2 separate regions of the Homo sapiens genome follow, and region 1 is linked to region 2. The links are contacts of gene promoters, found by promoter capture Hi-C in blood cells and fetal thymus (Javierre and others, 2016). All regions are on one chromosome and are shown on one strand. Each heading gives the region's core, a stretch centred on a gene start or on the middle of the fragment in contact. The rest is flanking DNA. Distances are from core to core; before and after follow the strand shown. Region 1 holds the start of ASNS (asparagine synthetase (glutamine-hydrolyzing)). Region 2 holds the start of DYNC1I1 (dynein cytoplasmic 1 intermediate chain 1).

The links. Contacts are between HindIII fragments. The CHiCAGO score rates a contact against its expected background, and 5 or more counts as called.
Region 1: the fragment with the promoter of ASNS here is called in contact with the fragment with the promoter of DYNC1I1 in region 2 in 1 of 17 cell types (M0 macrophages); the score reaches 5.4 in M0 macrophages.

Annotation. Positions count from the first base shown.
Region 1 is chr7:97,869,643-97,873,770 of GRCh38, reverse strand. ASNS (asparagine synthetase (glutamine-hydrolyzing)) reads left to right here and starts at 1,363. Exons shown (of 13, transcript NM_001673.5): 1 at 1,363-1,420; 2 at 3,958-3,993. CZ1P-ASNS (CZ1P-ASNS readthrough) reads left to right here. Exons shown (of 19, transcript NR_147989.1): 8 at 3,958-3,993. RefSeq lists silencers at 1,132-1,221, 1,532-1,641 and an enhancer at 767-1,482. The HindIII fragment of the contact is 3,580 bases long and covers 1,018-4,128 here.
Region 2 is chr7:95,771,164-95,775,444 of GRCh38, reverse strand. It overlaps DYNC1I1 (dynein cytoplasmic 1 intermediate chain 1), which reads right to left and starts at 2,891. Exons shown (of 17, transcript NM_001135556.2): 1 at 2,672-2,891. The HindIII fragment of the contact is 2,753 bases long and covers 973-3,725 here.

The sequences.
Region 1 (4,128 bases), core at 114-2,613, 2.1 Mb before region 2:
CAGGGGAACCTGTCTTTCACTACATAGGCAAGATGCTACGGGAAATGGGCTCTGGGTTTACACAGATTATGACTCAGTTCTCTACTGTTGTGAAGCTGTGTTTGGATAAATCCCTCAACTTTTCTGAGTCTTATTTTTTCATTTGTAAAATGTAGATAGAAGACCTACTTTCCCACATTGCTCTCAGGTTTAAAGTACGTCAATTAGGATACAGCAAAGTCTGTTTGATACTGAAAACTTTCCAGCAACAATGAACCTTAGAACAAGTCATCTCTCATCTTTGCTCTTGCCTGTAACTACTAAGCGACTACTCCATCTTCTGTTCTTAGGGATTTTAAATTGTTGACGTTTTTGATTTAGTCAGGAATGCGTTGTATGGGGATATCAAACCTGCATGCTCTCCAAGCATTGACTGTAGTCTGATCTTAGTAGGTCGTGCACATATAATTTTACTATTTCTCAATTTATTTCGGTGCTGATGTAATTAGTAAAATACGATTTAAGAGTGTTATGATACTTTTTAAAAATCGTGATGTCTTTTCTTCATCAAAGAGATACTTAAAAGCACATAATCATCTTGTGGAGGCAAGTTGACAAAATCCTTTTTGAGATTCTAAAAGGAATCTTTGTACTTAAAATGTTTAAGGACCACTGATGTATTTTGGCTTCATGTATCAATTAGATTTAGATTTTATTGTTTTAGAGATGGGGGTCTCCCTTTGTCGCCCAGGCTGGAGTTGAGCTCACCTCAGCCTCAAACGCCTGGGCTCAAACTATCCTTCTGCCTCAGCCTCCTGAGTTGCTGGGACTACCATGGTGTGCCACCAATTTTTATAGAGATGTGATCTCGCTGTGTTTCCCAGGCTGGTCTTGAACTCCTGGTTTCAAGTGATCCTCTTGCCTTGGCTTCCCAAAGTGTTGGGATTACAGGCGTGAGCCACCGCTCCTGGCCCCGATTTATTAATAGATCTTATAAGGACATTTTAGGCCTCACGCATCAGTTTCTTAGGACAAGCTTTTCTCTGCACTGCATAATAAATCAGACGGCAGTGCAACAAAAAAACGGTGATGATTTCCCGAAGAACAAACCAAGTTCAGAAGCCTCCCTAATTGTCAGAACAGCAGGTAGCCTGGGCGGAGCTCTGAGGCTATCCTTAAACAGGCGCACTGAGACGCAAGGCGCTGGAAACAAAAGAGCTCCTCCTTGCGCCCTTCCGCCGCCCCACTTAGTCCTGCTCCGCCCCGGACACCCCGCGGCCCCGCCCCTGTGCGCGCTGGTTGGTCCTCGCAGGCATGATGAAACTTCCCGCACGCGTTACAGGAGCCAGGTCGGTATAAGCGCCAGCGGCCTCGCCGCCCGTCAAGCTGTCCACATCCCTGGCCTCAGCCCGCCACATCACCCTGACCTGCTTACGCCCAGGTGAGCCGGGTCCTGCGCCCCGTGCCCTGCGCCCCGCGCCAGCATCCTCCTCGCGTGCCCTGGGGCTGCTCCGGAAGGAAGGGGTGGAGGATGCGGTCTTCAGCCTGGCACCCGGCAGACGCGGTTCGCGGGCGCCTGCTGATGCTGCGGCTCCTGCGGTAGGGAGGGCGGGGCGGACGCCTAGCGATTGTTACGCACCTGACAGCTAGCGGAAGGACCTTTCTGTCCTGGTTCCCTGAAGCATCGAGAGGGAACCGCGGCCGGCAGGCCGGACCGCTCCGGAGAGGAGGCAGCGGCAGTTTGAGCCCCTGTAAATGTTATATGTGTACTTTTTTTTACTATGTGGCGTCGAAGCCTGTGGACATTTTCGCGGTCCGGGTCCCTGCGGCGGACGGGTCGGATCGTGCTCGTGGCCAGGGCGCAGTCAGGTGTCGCGTGGTCCTGATCTAGGAAGAGACTGCGGCCTTATCACCGTCTCGGTGTCTGCTTTCACCTTCAACTGCCCCCCTCCTCACCTGGACCGCTCACCCTCCTCCTCCCCTCTCACCCCGCCATCCCCACCAGTCCCCACCTGTCTCTGTAGACTGCAAGACTCATCAAGTGACTTGCTGAGCAAACCCTGCCGAGAAGAGGTCTGTTTAGGGACACAGGCGACCAAGTACAGAAAAAGGCAAAAGAACTAGCATGCCTTTTTCAATGGCTGTCATTTTGCAGGGCTGGCTTCAGATGATTGTTATAGCTTTAAATAAAAAGGACAGTTTTCATCTCGGCCCGTGGCCTACATTATTTCTTTACTGTCCATTGCCCTGGGCGCTTGACTAATAATTTAACAGCAGTTTTTTTTTTTAAATTTTAAATCATGATTCATAGCATTGCTGTAAGAGTAATTAGAGGTAAAGTAGGGCTTGAACCTGTCTGTAGTTGGTTACTTACTGAGATCTTAATATAAAAGTAAAGGGAGAGGGTGAAGTTGTAAGTAGCACTAAGTGGAATAGAAATTAAATGCACTGAAACTGCCATGTCCAGTTCGGTAGGCGCTAGCCACCTGTAACTGTTGAGCACTTGAAGTGCTGGCTAGTCCTAACTGAGATGTATTGTGTTAAATACACTGGATTTTGTCGTTGGAGTAGGAAGAACAGTGTAAAATATCTGCTCGATAATATTTTATATTGATTACATATATGTTAAAATGTTACTATTTGGGACATACTGAGTTAAGTTTATTTAAAATTAATTTCACCTTTTTCTTTTAATGGGGCTACTAGTATATTTAAAATTACATATGTGGCTTACATATATATTTATTGGACAGCACTGTTCTAGAAGTTTAGGAAGAAATAAGAAAAATATTGAGAACAGGTAGCGGCAGTAGGAACTTTGCCCTCCTATAAGACTGATTCCAATAAAAATAATAGGTTATAGTTTTAATTGGCTTTTTCCTACTAGAAAAAATAAGTGTACTTTACATGCCTCTTTGTTCTCCCTTTTTCCCCTCCAGTTTAGTGGTTAGAATGTATTTATTATAGCAGGATTAATACAGGGATTCACTAAGCAGCGTTAAGAAGACTTAGGTAACTGATTCCCTGATGACCATACTTGATTTTCAAAGCACTTTCCTAACCCGTTTTAAATTGATATAGAGTCAAAGGCAGATGGCTTATTAGTAGTCATCTCATTTAAATCTTATGGAATTTTTCCAGTAAATCTCAAATAATTTGTTATAGGCTATTTGGGCTATTTGGTCAAGTGCATGGAAGAGACAGCATAGGACATGTGGTACTTCATTTCCAAATTGCTTGAGATGATTTTCATTCTAACCATATATTATTTGGTTCTGGTTTTCCGGAAAAGCCAGCTAAACCTTTGGTTCTTTTAGATATAAATGAAATATCATCAAAGAATAGCTCAAAGTGACTTATGCAACTTGAATGTATATTTTTTCCTTAGGGTGTTTATCCCAAACTATTTGGGCATTTGCTGCAATTCGCAGTTTTTTTAAAAAAAACACCAAAATAGTTATTTTTCAAGTTAGAGATGTTTTAATTAAAACATCTTGTTTTTGGTGTATCCATTGACATTCTCAAAACGGAATGTATCTGGACCTCTGTGTACAATCTTCGTAGCACTCAGACACTGAACAGAAAGGCAGTCATCACTGCCAAACAGGGCCCAAATGCCACACATGGTGCAATGTGTCATTTTGAGCTGGCAGCAGCCAAATAAAACAGCCCTTTATTTCACAGTTGAGAATTTGAAATTGGAAAGTAATTAACGTATGTAAGGGTGATTTATTTGCTTCCGGGCTTATAGGGATGAGCTAAGTTTTTTATTAGGGATGTTGTTGGTGTATATGTCTCACCTACTTTGCTTCCTTACTGAACAATGCAACTTTGAGACAGAAATATTTGAGAACATTTTTGTCAGTGAGGACATTTTGATAGTGAATATTTTGTATCTTCTATTAACTTGAAATGTTTTATTTGTTATAAAGCCAGGATATCTGATATCAAATTAAATTGTTTTTTTTTTCCCTTTAGATTTTCTTCAATCACATCTGAATAAATCACTTGAAGGTAACCTAGATGTAATATAGTGAAATGCTTGAAAGAGCTGCGTATCTTTTACACTTACAGCAGTATGATTTTCTGTTGTACCCATTATATGGTACCTGCAGCTAGTTCAGATAAAGAGGGCATTTAACTGTCAAG
Region 2 (4,281 bases), core at 1,642-4,141:
GAGATCTCATTTGAATCCTACCTCTGCCATTTATTAAATGATGTTGAGTATGTCATTTAACTCATTTAATTATTTGGAAAATATGGATAATAATGTCTACTTCATAGGATTAATATAAGAATTAAAATGAGATAAGAGAAGAGCTTGGTATTCAATATATGAAAATTAACCAGTGTAATTGTTTCATAGTACGGAAGAGAGAGGTTAAAACTCCTGGCCTGGAGTCAGGCCTTGATTCAAATGCTGCCTTGCTCAACTTAGTAGCTGAGCAAAAGTTACTTGACACCTTTGTGTCTTAGTTTCCTCATCTGTAAAACAGGATTACAAACAATATCTGCCTCATAAGATTTTTGTGATGTTTAAATAAGTTAACACCTGTGAAAGTATTTTAAAATGCAATGCCTGGTAAAGTGCTCAATATATTTTAGCTACTGTTATCAATCTTTGTTTCAAGTGTAGGGAGAATAAAGTAATGAAGGAATATATTTGTTTGAAACAGATTTTGAAACAGATGCATGTGACCTTTTCATTTGATGCTACGTTAAACAACAAAGAAACTGGAGAAAACGGTAACAGGATGAAGCCGGTGCACACTGTCTGTACTAAGAGGGGTACCTAGATTTCAGATTTGGCATGCATTTTACAAGACTGGTCTACATCGCTGTTTTTATGGACAGAGCAGCACCCAGGCTGGATCCTTGACTCAGCACTGTCATCAAAGGCAAGGCTCATTTATTAAACGTAGACTCGGGAAGGAGTATTTTTGGAAGCAGAGGGATTGGGAAGAAAGACCCTAGAGCCTTCTCTGAGATATAAAACATGGTGACTGAAATGCCAAGTGACTTCTTACTCTCTTCGAAGTTAGTCAGAAACTGAAGACCATGGACCACTACTTTAAGAACTCTGCCCCTTTTCCTGCGGGTCGAGTTTATTTTCTCTGCTCATATCCCTACTGGTGATTTACCTAAAGCTTTAACAGTAAAACAATCATGCATGTTTTCAATAGCAAAGAGGGAGGAAAGGCTGGGGGTGGGGAAGGACTGCAAGCCAGCCCCTCCTCCTCCAGGGGACTGTGCACCAGCGGCTGCAGCATCTCAGAGGTCCAAAGAAGGAGGAAGCAAGTGCATTTGTATCTGAGGCCTGAGACAAGGAAGACAAAGTAAAATGCTGAGATGCTGTGGGCCAGAAACAGGGCTAAGAGCTTGACAGGCTGGAAAAGCCTGCATTCGACCCCCAACTGTATTCTAAAAACTTCCCAAGGATGGTGCTAGAGGTTTTAAGAGGAATGGGTCTTGGAGCACTGGATCCTCAGACCTAAACAAATATTCGAGAGTTAGTTCTTATGAAGAGAACATGTGGTAACTCAGTGGCAGGTGTTTCAGATTTTATTTTATTGAGAAATATGATCAAAAGAGCTGAGTTAGGACCCCTTTTTCCACACCAAACCTTTTTGAACAAACTTGGCATTTTAAATAATTAGAGGTAGTATTACATTCTCACCAGTACCCTCAGCTTGCAAATTGCACTGAATATTCCCTTTTCAAATTTACTAACACTGATCAACGTATATCTCTATAATTTCCACAATTAAAGTATGTACACAGACTGGTTACCCATGTCTGTGTTAACATCAGGCGTTGGGTTGTCACCTGCAGTTGCCTATGCCTTACTGTTAGCTATACTTTTTGCTAATCTGGAATATTTGGAAGCAATTCTTCACAACTCTGAACTACAATAAGTCTACAATGCCCACTTGAAAGGCATTCCAAGCAAGAAAATGGCTGGCTACTTGTTCCTGCCCCTTACCTAGGATTAGTAGAGGCCAGAATAGCGAATATATTCCATCTTCTGCATGTTGTTGAGTCTCTGATCTCCTATGTAATTTCCTGTCCTGATCCTGGGCTTCTGTTTAATCTTATTAGCCAAGGTACAAGTCATGAGACTCCCGCACACTCAGTTCCCATCAGCGCTGCCAGGATCACTGCCCTTATGATGACGACGCACGGATTTATAAGGCCAGAGCGATTCCGAATGGGAGCGGGGGAAGGAGAGCCAGGCGGCCGTGAAGGTGTTTACCAAAACAACATCCCCCAGCCACACTTTTTCGCAGCAGAGAGAAACTGGCATCTTCTCGCTTTGAAGTGTTTAATTAATGCCCTGCTGGAAGTGAATTCGCTCCCTCCGACTTGCAGGGTAGTGACAGCATCTAAGAGCTTTGCAGACAGCTCGAAATGTAATCAAACAGCATCCTTTCCCCTCCCTCTGCAGCTTTCCCCCTCCTCCAGGGGCAGTCAGCCGGTGGCCCAGAGGGGTGCAGATTTCAGCGCCGCTCGCCCACTGCTCCCCCGGGGAAGACCGAGGCGGGGCGCACTGGGACGCCCTTCCCAGCCCACAAGGTGGGCGACCAGGTGGTGACACCACGACCCTTCCTTCTCTGCCCTAGTCTCTCGGCTCTGCCGAGAGGGGGGTGTCACTGGGGGGCTTTGGCCGCCTTCGGGCTCAGCGGAGCACGCAGGAGCCTGGGCAGGGGGCCAGGACAAGGGTCCGGCTGCGGCTGCAGGGGCCTCGGCTCCAGCCTGGTTCCCAGCGCAGACGACACCGGGGTGGGGAGGGTTGGGGAGAGGTGCGGAGGCGGCCGTCCGGGGAGCGGCGACATCCCGCTCCAGTTTACCTGGACGCGCTCGGCAGCGGCGGAACTGGGCTCCCCGAGCCGGCGGCGGCTCCTGGGCGGCGGCAGCGTTGGTGCAGGCGGCTCCCGAAGGTGGCGGGGCCGGCGCGGGCAGGATGTGCTGTCTCACGCTGCGCCGGCCGCTCGGCTCGCGCTCCTCCGGGAGCGATCACTTCCTCTCTCCCAGAGCCTGACACTGACAGCTCCCCGGAGCACTCAGTCTGCGGGGCTCGCCCCGCCCCCTGCCCACGCCCTCCACGCCCGCGCCCCTCCTGAGGGAGGGCCTCCGCTCCGCGTCTTCCGCGCCCGGTCTCGCCAGGAGGGGGTGGCGCCGCTCCGTAGGCTGGTGGCGAGCAGAGGACCTGGAAAGGTCAATTCGTCTATCCCTCTAACGTCGGTAGGACTTAGACCTCAGTTGCTGCAAAGAGAAGAGCTTCAATATTCTGGGAGCTCCTGCTGAAATGCCACCATTGAACAACTTTCACTCCCAGGCAACTACACTTCTTAAGGTCATTTAAATAGAAATAAAGCTCAGATCTACCTGTTGTACACAATGACTTATAGGTCTGATTGATCCCAATTTTTCTAGAAGAAAAAAGAATTAAGTGTGTGTGTCTGTGTGTGTGTGTGTGTGTGTGTGTGTGTGTGTGGTGTGGTGTGTGTGTAGCTTGTCTTCACATTGCTTCTTAAAGTCCCAGCTTTTAAAAATCTGGGTAACTGGCCAGACGCGGTGGCTCACGCCTGTAATCCAAGCACTTTGGGAGGCCGAGGAGGGCGGATCACCTGAGGTCGAGAGTTGGGGGACCAGCCTGACCAACATGAAAAAACCCCGTCTCTACTAAAAATACAAAATTAGCCGGGCGTGGTGGTGCATGCCAGTAATCCCAGCTACTCGGGAGGCTAAGGCAGGAGAATGGTTGAACCCGGGAGGCGGAGGTTGTGGTGAACCGAGATCCCGCCACTGCACTCAAAGCCTGGGCAACAAGAGCGAAACTCCGTCTCGGGGAAACAAAAAAAAATCTGGGTAACTATTATTGGACTCTGCAAAAAACAAGCTTGCCACAACAGCTAAGTTATAAGGCCAAAAAATTGAGTTTGGGATGTTAGGGGGTTTGGTATCATTTTATAGATGAGCTTTTCATCATATTTCTTGCACATCTGTGGTGTATTTTTACACATTAGAATGTAAATTAGTGGAGGGCAGGGACGCTATCTTGTTCACTGCTGTATTCTTAGTATCTAGAACAGCATTCTGATATATAATGGGTACTCAGTAAATATTTATGAACTTATTAATTCACAAGTACTACAGTAATTTCAAAATAAATACAGATTCTAGTATGAATACAGTATGAATACATACTCATCTGTAAATGGCCATCCTTATTCTAAAACTTTGGCCTCCCTGGCTAATCTACTGCGATTGTAACTATGGCTAGAAATGAAGAGGTTAAATGTCTAGGTAGAAGGTATTCAAGGTATTCCAGAAGGAAAAATCTAGGAAATAAATATTTGCCACTACCGTGACTGAATATTTAATACATGTCAATTCTACATACATTTTTCTTTAACTTTTCTATAACATTATGTAGTACATATAACGAATGCCATGC